Regions from separate parts of the Homo sapiens genome. Here region 1 is linked to region 2. Evidence: promoter capture Hi-C in human tissues and cell types (Jung and others, 2019). All regions are on one chromosome and are shown on one strand. Each heading gives the region's core, a stretch centred on a gene start or on the middle of the fragment in contact. The rest is flanking DNA. Distances are from core to core; before and after follow the strand shown. Region 1 overlaps TCF25 (TCF25 ribosome quality control complex subunit). Region 2 holds the start of DEF8 (differentially expressed in FDCP 8 homolog).

Region 1 (5,691 bases), core at 1,323-3,822, 65 kb after region 2:
TCCTCAATCCTCTCTAGGATGCGATCGATATCTTCTAGTCCGTTTTCCTAAAAGCCCCAAAACAACCTCTTAATCACCACACTGACATTATTTTAAATATTGTAACAATAACAAAATTATTTATCTTAAAAGAGACCTATTACACTGTATTTACTTCCTAAAGGACAGCATAAGTCAAACACTATGTACCATCCACACATTTAGAAAAAAGAAGAGATGTTTCCTAAGAAGCGCTCAGCATAGACAGAATCACAGAACCAGAAGGACCCTAGAAAAAACTGGGCATTCCACATCACACTGGTGTGCTCACCTCCTCAGGCAAACAGGGTTGGGACTTGTGGCTCCAACTAAACGGCAACAAAGCTACACCCTTGTCTCAGGACACAGTCAGACGAGGACGAAGGGCAATGATGAAAACATATTTTTTTCTGATGACAGACTAGCTCCAGTGGAGGGTTCTGTACCCACCATGCAATTAACCCATAAGCATGGGACAGATGTCAGGGCAAACAGCAAGTGTCCCACGGGTCACAGGAGCACCAGAACTAGAAGGGATGTCCCCATCAGATCACACATTCCCACAGAGACACAGAGCAGAGCGCCAACCAGTCGAGGAACAAGGGTAAAAACAAGAAGCAGCATTTAGAAAGTAACTTTCCCTTTTCTTTTTCCCTGATCTCTTAGTTATACTCCTAATAGGAAGGAATAAAAATACTAAGTAAGCTTCTTTCAACACCACCTTGGAAAACAGCCAGAAGAGAATGGAGAGAGCGTCAGGCAGAGGGAGAGGGCGTCAGGCAGAGGGAGAGGGCGTCAGGCAGAGGGAGAGGGCGTCAGGCAGAGGGAGAGGGGCGTCAGGCAGAGGGAGAGGGCGTCAGGCAGAGGGAGAGGGCGTCAGGCAGACGGAGAGGGCGTCAGACAGAGGGAGAGGGGCGTCAGGCAGAGGGAGAGGGCGTCAGGCAGAGGGAGAGGGCGTCAGGCAGAGGGAGAGGGGCGTCAGGCAGAGGGAGAGGGGCGTCAGGCAGAGGGAGAGGGCGTCAGGCAGACGGAGGGCGTCAGACAGAGGGAGAGGGCGTCAGGCAGAGGGAGAGGGCGTCAGGCAGAGGGAGAGGGCGTCAGGCAGAGGGAGAGGGCGTCAGACAGAGGGAGAGGGCGTCAGGCAGAGGGAGAGGGCGTCAGGCAGAGGGAGAGGGGCGTCAGGCAGAGGGACAGAGCACAGCCAGGCCCAACTCACGTACCGATGCTTCTCCCGTGCTGCTTTTCTTGTTTTTCTGTTTTTTTTTCTTCTTCCGGAGTTTGCCACTTGCATGAGACTAATGATAGAAACACATTTTCATCAGTAGAATGAGAAGTAAATCTTAAGAAGTGAGAATTAAAGCAGCAAGCGTGACTCCACCCTCACCTAAGCAGCCCCTACCTCTCCCTCCGTGTCCCAAAAGTTCCTTCAACTCACTCTCTTCTCTCCAGCAGGCACCTTCCCACCTCTCCGAGCCCCTCGGGCTGTGCTACAGCAGTCCCCAGGGCCTTCTGTGTCCAGCCTCACAGGCTCACAGGACCCTGACCAGGTCCAGCTCTCATTCCTCCCTGTGTCGGCCACTCCCTGCCACACTGCAGCCACCCTGAAGACGGGGGCCTTGCTGTGCCCTGGCCGCCTCACACCGCACCTGTATGTGTGGTCCCCTACGCCTGCACCTGGCCAACCCCTTCTGACAGTAGGAAGGCTCCTCAGGAAGCCCCCAGGACCCTGAGCCTCAAGTCAGGACCCACCTGTCACTTCACATGTATGTTGCCCTCCCAACCAGAGGCTCCTGGGGGGCAAAGGCACGTTCCCAGCACCCAGCAAGCTCCCAAGAACACTTGTTGGATAAATGAACACAAGCTCTCCTTTTAGGGCCCCTCTTCTGTGCTGTGGAGCACAGCAGCAGGCTGTCTGCATCTCTGCCCATCCCACGTTAACCTGACCTGCATGTTTCTTCAAAGTTCACTTACACCAGCACCCAGATCCACAACCCAGCCAAGCAAACGTTCGGGGCACAGTTAGGAAGGACACACGTGCGCGGTCGGCTAGGAGGCACACACGTGCGCGGTCGGCTAGGAGGGACACACGTGCGCGGTTGGCTAGGAGGGACACACGTGTGCGGTTACATACACTGCTGGGCAGGCGCAGACTCTCCTGAGATGCAGGAGAAAGGCCTGCGACCTTCACTCATTTCATGCAAATCTCATCAAGGTTCCCAAGTAAATTTGGGGGCAACTAGCAGGTAACCAAAATGGAACTCGGAAAATTACACCTCCAAGGAAAATCACAGCACAGGATACACGTGGCTGGGTGCCTTGGAACTCTCCCGTCTGATGCCACCTCCTCACCACTCAGCCCCCCACCTGCTCTGAGGGCACTGTCTCGGTGTCATCTCCATCCGTCTTGCTCTCTGTGTTTCCACGCTGACCCCTTCCTTTGTTCCCTGGTGCCACAGCGTCTGTGAGCGCACAGCCAGACCTCTCCCCGTTCACCACAGGGTCATCCTCAAGATCGTCAATGTTTATCTGGAAAAACAGGTTGGAGAAGAGCCAGGGCGTTACTTACAGTGTGAACGCTCATGCTGAGATATGAATAGTGAGATGTGAACGGGCTTGCGTTGGGGACCCCCAGGGTCAGTGCGAGACGCTGGACGGGAAAGATGCAAGAACCCGAGACTGTTGGACACAGCAGTGACTCAGCTCTGGCTCAGGGGGACTTTGTCAGCAGCTCTACAGAAAGCCGGGGCCCCGAGGCTATGGGGTATCTCTGCCTTCAGAGATGAGGTAAGGAAGACTCCTCAAATATTGTAATTTACTCCATTTACAGAGGACCATCTGCAGGACAAAACGTTAAATATATATATTCAGCCAATGCATTAAAGTTCCTTCTTCCTCCTTTCTCCTCAAGCCTCAGCTCCTCTCCAGCAGCAGGCAGGAAAAAAAGGCACCAAGGACCCATCAACCTACAAACTTTTCCTAATGAAAATGATAGGCCAGGCGAGGTGCTCGCGCCTGTGATCCCAGCACTTTGGGAGGTTGATGCAGGCGGATCACTTGAGGTCAGGAGTTCAAGACCAGCCTGGCCAACATGGCGAAACCCTGTCTCTACTAAAAACACAAAAATTAGCCAGGCACAGTGGCAGGAGCCTGTAATCCCAGCTACTTGGGAGGCTGAAGTGGTATAATCGTTTGAACCCGGGAGGCAGAGGTTGCTGTGAGTCAAGATCGCACCACTACCCTCCAGCCTGGGCAACAGAGCAAGACTCCATCTCAAAATAGAAAAACAAAATGACATACGATAAAAATAATTCATACGATGAAACCTTCTCTCTCTCTTTTTGAGACAGAGTCTCGCTCTGTCATCCAGGCTGCAGTGCAGCAGTGTGATCTTGGCTCACTGCAGCCTTGGCCTCCTGGGTTCAAGCATCCTCCTGCCTCAGCCTCCCAAGTAGCTGGAACTACAGGCGTGAGCTACCATGCCTGGCTAATTTTTTAAATTTTTTTGTAGAGATGGGGGTCTCAACACATTGCCCAGGCTGGTCTTGAGCTCCTGACCTCAAGCGATCCTCCTGCCTCAGCCTCCCAAAGAGCTGGAGTTACAGGCGTGAGCCACCACGCCAAGTCTGGAACCTTTTTATAGCAGTGAGAATGAATGAATGAATGAACCACCACTGAACACACAATATGGATGAATCTTAGGAGTATAATATTAAATGGATAAAACCTCACAACATACATTCACATACAGATTGGAGGGGAGACAGGCAGTGGGAGAAGGGTAAGAACAGGAAAAGTTCTGGCTCCTCAGCTAGTGAGAGGCTGACCGGGCACGGTGGCGGTGCACCCCTGTAATCCCAGCACTTTGGGAGGCCGAGGTGGGTGGATCACGAGGTCAGCAATTCAAGACCAGCCTGACCAACATGGTGAAATCCCGTCTCTACTGAAAATAAAAAAATCGGCCAGGTGCAGTGGCGCGTGCCTGTAATCCCAGCTACTCGGGAGGCCGAGGCAGGAGAATTGCTTGAATCCGGGAGGCAGAGGTTGCAGCGAGCCAAGATTATGCCACTGCACTCCAGCCTGGGTGATAAGGCGAGATTCCATTTCAAGAAAACAAAAAAAAAAGAGGCTAACAGATTGGGTGTGGTGGCTCATGCCTATAATCCCAGCGCTTTGGGAGGCTGAGGCAGGAGGATCATCTGAGCCCAGGAGCTTGAAACCAGCCTAGGCAATACAGTGAGACCCCATCTCTACAAAAAATTAGCAGGGTGTGGTGGCACACACCTCTTGAGTCCCAGCTACTCAGGCGGCTGAGGAGGACTGCGTGAGCCCAGCAGTCCTGGAATCTGGAACCTGGAGTGAGCCATGATCACACAACGGCACTCCAGCGTGGGCAACAGAGCAAGACTCTAGCTCTAAATTTTTTAAAAAAAAAGCTAACAGAGACCAGCATCAACAATTCTTTATGAACTAGGAGATTCTGATGGATCCAATCGGATGCACTAAGGTTCAAAAATAAATAAAACTGCCTGTTTAATTTAAAACATCTTGAAAACCACAAACCTCAGAAAACACAATCAGCTCCAAGCCCCATAGCCCTGAGATAGTTTCTGAAACAGAATTGAGACTCGGCTGCACCTGGGAAGACAGACACCCCGGCTGCGGTTGCTGAAGAGAAGAAAGCACAGGGCAGGTCTGTGCTTGCCGGTCAGTCGGCTTTCTCTCCAATGGAGGCTCCCACATGACAAGGATACGATTCAGGAGCATCTTAAACGCCCGCTGAGACAAGTCAGGAGCAACTTACGCCCGTTGAGAAAATCCATGGCAGTATAGACGTGTTATGTAAACAGAGCCCCTAACTTGAAAACACTGACACTCCACCAAAACGAGGTTTGTCCCATCCCAGCAGCACCATGATGGTGATTCTCATGGTGATGCCTCCTTCTGCCTGGCCTTTGCTGGCGAAGCTGGGGCCTAGGCATGGGCCGGCTGCCTTGCACCCTGCAGTAAAGGAAGAAAGCTGAAACAAAGCCTATTGTTGAAATGTTTCTAACCTGTGGGTGGTCACTGGTAAATTGGATCTACACCATCTCCAACATTCAACTAATGATGATGTCTCTTAGTGAAGCTGGGTGCTGGTTTACTTGTCTGTTTTTAGAGATAGGGTCTCACTGTGTTGCCCAGGCTGGCCTCAAATTCCTGTGGTCAAGGGATCCTCCTGCCTCAGCCTCCCCAGGAGCTGGGACTACAGGCACACGCCACAACACCCAATTTACTTTTTTTTTTTTCTTTTTTTGAGATGGAGTCTTGCTCTGTTGCCCAGGCTGGAGAGCAATCGCATGATCTTGGCTCACTGCAACCTCCGCCTCCCGGATTCAAGTGATTCTCCTGCCTCAGCCTCCCGAGTAACTGGGACTACAGGCATGTGCCGCCATGCCAGGCTAATTTTTGTATTTTTAGTACAGATGGGGTTTCATCATGTTGGCCAGGCTGGTCTCGAACTCCTGACCTCAGGTGATCTGCCCGCCTCAGACTCCCAAAGTGCTGGGATTACAGGCGTGAGCCACCGCGCCCGGCCAACACCCAATTTACTTTTATTAACTCATGCTGACTTCCTAAGAAAAAAAATTCTTATTTTGAGGTGTTTGACAAATCGAATTCATAAAAAGCTCTATG
Region 2 (5,289 bases), core at 1,879-4,378:
ATCTTTTTTACATAAATATGTATGTGTGTGTATATACATATATATGTGTGTGTGTGTATACATACATATGAGAAAAAAGAAAAGACTTCTGAGAATTGTCCTTAAAGGTAGGGGCTGCCCCTCTTCAGCCATCCCTGCCTCCTGCTGCCTGGAATGCAGATGTAAAGGCTGCAGCTGGAATAGCCACACTGGGGAGAGTGACGTGATTGCAGGGGACTGCACCTGAGCCCTAAGCTGCTCACAGCCAGACTTCATTCAAGTGAGAGAAATACGATATTCCCACCAGTGTTATAGGGGAGGTTTTTGTCTCTTGCGGCCAAAGTAGATTCTGACTGAAAGACCCAGCTCGGTGGCTCACGCCTGTAATCCCAGCACTTTGGGAAGCAGAAGTGGGCTGATCACCTGAGGTGAGCAGTTCGAGACCAGCCTGGCCAACCTGGTGAAACCCCGTCTCTACCAAAAATACAAAAATTAGCCGGGCGTGGTGGTGGGCATCTGTAATCCCAGCTACTTGGGAGGCTGAGGCAGGAGAATCGCTTGAACCCAGGAGGTGAGCCGAGATTGAGCCACTGCACTCCAGCTTGGGTGACAGAGTGAGACTCCATCTCAGAAAAAAAAAAAAGAAAAGATTCTGACTGATGATCCCAATAGTTTCATGGTAACAAGACAGACACGTCCAGCTTGAATCCCAACTCTGCTAGCTCCTAGCTGTGTGACCTTGGGTAAGTGGATAAACGTTTCTCTGCCTCCATTCTCCCATGTCTCAAATGGGGATTACAATAGTACCATACAGGGTTATTGTCAAGATTAAAGTAGTTAATACTAAGTTCAGAGAACACTGGCCGGCACATAGTAAGCACCCAATAAATATTGATTATAATTTATCATTATTACTTTTTTTTGAGACAGGGTGTTGCTCTGTCACCCGAGCTGGAGTGCAGTGGTGCGATCACAGCTCACTGCAGCCTCAAACTCCTGGGCTGAAGGGGTCCTCCCATATTAGCCTCCCAAGTAGCTGGAACTCCAGTGTGTGCCACCACACTCAGCTAATTTTTTTTAACTTTTTGTAGAGACGGAGTCTCACTCTGATGCCCAGGCTGGTCTCAAACTCCTGGCTTCAAGCAACCCTCCTGCCTCTGCCTCCCAAATTGCTGGGATTATAGGTGTGAGCTACCATGCCTGGCCTATTACTGTTATTTTTAAGAATCATGGCCGGTGTGTGGTGGCTCACTTTGGGAGGCTGAGGCGGGTGGATCATTTGAGGTCAAGAGTTCAAACCAGCCTGACCAACATGGTGAAACCCCGTCTGTACTAAAAACACAAACAAATTAGCTGGGCATGGTGGTGCATGCCTGTAATCCAGCTACTTGGGAAGCTGAGGCAGGAGAATCACTTGAACACGGGAGGTGGAGGTTGCAGTGAGCCGAGATTGTGCCACTGCACTCCAGCCTAGGCAACACAGCAAAACTCCATCTCAAAAAAAAAAAAAAAATCAGCCCTGATTTAGACTCTGGTTCTCCATTGTCTTGCCTATAAATCAGGGGGAACACCTACTTTCTGGGGTGGATGGAAGGGCTAAGGACTTGTTTATGATGTCAGTGAAGCCAGGAGCCCAGAGCTGCTCAGAACAGACTGGCACTGTCATCACATATGGTGACCAGCCCAGGAAAAAGGTGCAGGAGCTACGCCTGGGGAAGCCGCTGGAAACCTCCTGGTGTTTAAAACATGGCCAGAGGAGCGTCAAGGAAGGCACGCTGGCAGGGACACCTCCGTTCTGCCCAGCAGCTGTACTCTAGGCTACCAGCTCTCCTCCGGGCTGTGAAAAAAGGCATCTTTTATTTGCCTATTTACTGACAGTCAGTGCCAGCCCCAGGCCTGGCGCACGGGCAGGGGATGAATGAGGGGAGGCCGCTGGCCTCGCAGCCTTAGCTTCTGCTCACACAGACCTGGGGATGCCGGCCACAGTGGCCGACTCTGAGCAGAACGCCAGCCTGCCCCTCTCACCAGGCTCACCCCACCAGTTCTGCACCCAGATGTGGGACTTGGCCTCAGAAAGGAGCGGGCAGGAAGTGGAAGAGTGAAAGCAAGAGGTCTGGCCACCCCCTGCCCCTCCTCTAGAGCCCACTGCTCTCATCGGGGAGGACCCCACAACTTAGCAATGAAAGGAAGCCGAAGAAAGCCGGCGGGGTTCCGGGGCACGGAGGGACCCTGGGCCGAAGCTCAGGACACGCGGGATGCACGGACCTGGCCTCCCGCGTCCTGCCCGCGGCGTGACCACCAGGAAGCGGTGTCATCACTGCAGCTGCCACCCCGAGAACCTGAGAAGTCACCCCGGTGTGCGGAGTCAACAGCGTCCTGTCTGCCCATACCTGCATCGCCTGCCAGGGCCCAGGGGCTCGCAGGGACAGGATGGCCATTCCTCTAGGGCTGCTGGCCACGGAAGCCTGGCCGTGGGTTCGGCACCTGCTGCAGGGAGAAGCCACCCCAGCACTGTGCCTCCCCACCCACCACACCCGCGGGAGCTCGCCCGGTCTCCCGGGCTCCTCGGGGGCAGGTCTCTCCCACCCACCCGTTCCACCGAGGGGGAAACTGAGGCTCGGAGCAGCCCAGGGCGGGGGCACGGCCACGCGGGTCCCCTGAGCCGCCCGGGTGCTCCGCACGCAGCTGGTGTGGACGCCGGAGCAGCGGCGGCGTCCCCGGGGTGGGGCGGCCGAGGTCTCGAGGCCCCTGCGCCGGGCGGGCCGCCCTCCCAGCCCCGTCCCCGCCGGCCCCGACCTCGCCGGCCCCGTCCCCGCCGGCCCCGTCCCCGCCGGCCCCGTCCCTCCCAGCCCCGACCCCGCCGACCCCGTCCCCGCCGGCCCCGTCCCTCCCAGCCCCGACCCCGCCGGCCCCGTCCCCGCCGGCCCCGTCCCCGCCGGCCCCGTCCCTCCCAGCCCCGTCCCCGCCGACCCCGTCCCCGCCGGCCCCGTCCCTCCCAGCCCCGACCCCGCCGACCCCGTCCCCGCCGGCCCCGTCCCCGCCGGCCCCGTCCCCGCCGGCCCCGACCCCGCCGGCCCCGCGCCGCTCACCTGACCGCCGCCTCGCATCTGTCTCCCGGCTGCGCTGGATCCGCCCGGCCGCCCCGCTACGCTGGATCCAGCCCCGCGCTCGCTGCTGCCGCCTCCGGCGCGGAGGTTCATGGCACGCGGGTCGCGAGTCTGCGAGCCCCGGAGTCCGCCCGGCTGTTCCGCGGGCCTGACCTGGGGCTGCGCGTCCTGGGTTTCCTCTCATCGCAGAAGGCCTGTGGCTGAAACCCAAACCCCAACACGTTTAAAAAAAATGGGCGGGCGCGGCGGCTCACGCCTGTCATCCCAGCGCTTCGGGAGGCCGAGGCGGGCGGATCGCGAGGTCAGGAGATCGAGACCATCCTGGCTAACACGGTGAAACCCCGTCTCCACTAAAAATACGAAAAATTAGCCGGGCGCGGTGGCGGGCGCCTGTAGTCCCAGCTACGCGGGAGGCTGAGGCGGGAGAACGGCGTGAACCCGGGAGGCGGAGCTCGGAGTGAGCCGAGATCGCACCACTGCACTCCAGCCTGGGCGACAGAGCGAGACTCCGTCTCAAAAAAACAAAAAGGGTGGCTTTTAACACTTTTTTTAACCTCAGTGGTTGAGGAGGAAAAAGGAACAGAGAACCACCGTGTGCAGGTGCCGCCAGCCACCTGCAGGGCCCCGCGGGGGCTTCACGGCTGCAGAGGGAGGGACCCGGCGCGGCTCTACCCTCTTTACACAGGAGGACGCGCCACACTGCGCTCAGGAGGCTGCTCCATGCAGGCGCCGGGCAGCGGGACTTCGGAGGCAGCTGGTGTCCGCGGGCCCTGGCGTTATTCCTGCTTTCCCGTTGTTTACACACAGAGCAGGCCTGCTGCTCCCCGCCCCCGTATCCCTACTCTTAGGCTTCTCGCGTGGAAGATTCAGCTGCCCCCGCTTGTGCCCGCAGGGAGGAGCTGAGGACAGATGAAGGCCAGCATATGCGCCTGGTGCGCTTGCCCTGAGCTCGCGGGCTCAGTTTACCCTCCCTGCAGAAAGGTGTGGTTTTGGCTGCCTCTGGGGCTTGGTCCACTTTGTTCAGTGGGCATGGTGATGACAGTGCCAGTAACTGGAGGCCTCCCAAGTGGGAGCCACACACCACCTTGCAGAGACCAGCTCGGTCGGGGAGACCCTAACCCGGCAGCGCTAGAGGAACTAAAGACACACACACACAGAGATAGAGAGGTGTGGAGTGGGAAATCAGGGGTCTCACAGCCTTCAGAGCTGACAGCCTCGAACAGAGACTTACCCACGTATTTATTAACGGCAAACCAGTGATAAGCATTGTTTCTGTAGATATTAGACTAACTAAAAGTATCCCTTATGGGAAACGAAGGGATGGGCCAAGATAAAGGGATGGGTCTGGCTAGTTACCTGCAGCAGGAGCATGTCCTTAAGGCACAGATCGCTCACGCTATTGTTTGTGGCTTAAGAATGCCTTTAAGCAGTTTTCCGCCCTGGGTGGGCCAGGTGTTCCTTGCCCTCATTCTGGTAAACCCACGACCTTCCAGCGTGGGCGTCATGGCCGTCATGAACATGTCACAGTGCTGCAGAGATTTTGTTTATGGCCAGTTTTGGGACCAGTTTATGGCCAGGTTTTGGGGGGCGTGTTGCCAACACCATCTCATTTAACCCTACGGAAGCCTGGGGGCCAGCAGTCACCTACAGGACAGGCAACTCCATCGGCCCCCCCAAGGCCACATCGCTCAGAAAGGGTGCAGTGAGATTCCACCCCAGCTTAGGGTGGCTTCGGACGCCGTGTCCCTCCATGCACTCAGACCTGGAGGGAGACTGCCCTGAGCCGCCGCTCTATCTGCTGCTTCAAGGTCCCCAGTCCTAGAGATTCCACGTCCACCTGGCCTCTCTCCCAGCTCCTCCTTCTGGAAAGGCCTTCCCCATCTCAGCTCCCACCTGGGCCCCACAGTACATCCTCAGCCTGGCAGTGAGAGGGACCCTGGGAAGAAGTCGGCCCCCACCTTCACCTCCTGGCTCCTCTCCCCAACAGGCCAGGCCCACCCCCACCCCCACCTTCACCTCCTGGCTCGTCTCCCCAACAAGCCAGGCCCACCCCCACCGGGGCCCCTGCCTGGCTGAGCCTCTGTGGAGCAGTCCTCCCCAGTAACCCCAACACCTCCTCCTTGCCTCTGCTCAGCAGTCCTCAGTGATCTCTGGGAGGCAGGGCCCTTCCCCTCACTCACTCACCTTCTCCCTAATCACTCGT

The links. Contacts are between HindIII fragments. The study calls those that stand out against the background at their distance.
Region 1: a contact is called between a fragment that was not itself captured here and the fragment with the promoter of DEF8 in region 2, in 2 of the 25 tissues and cell types used here (adrenal gland and pancreas).

What each region holds. Positions count from the first base shown.
Region 1 is chr16:89,880,204-89,885,894 of GRCh38, reverse strand. It overlaps TCF25 (TCF25 ribosome quality control complex subunit), which reads right to left. Exons shown (of 18, transcript NM_014972.3): 2 at 2,383-2,544; 3 at 1,239-1,313; 4 at 1-47. Among named protein-coding and RNA genes, the nearest start is that of TCF25, 9.5 kb to the right of the region's middle. RefSeq lists a cis regulatory region at 3,318 and an enhancer at 3,234-3,403. The HindIII fragment of the contact is 6,115 bases long and covers 1-5,629 here.
Region 2 is chr16:89,946,594-89,951,882 of GRCh38, reverse strand. It overlaps DEF8 (differentially expressed in FDCP 8 homolog), which reads right to left and starts at 3,128. Exons shown (of 13, transcript NM_001242818.2): 1 at 3,069-3,128; 2 at 2,370-2,466. RefSeq lists a silencer at 2,999-3,098 and an enhancer at 3,779-4,118. The HindIII fragment of the contact is 40,323 bases long and covers 1-5,289 here.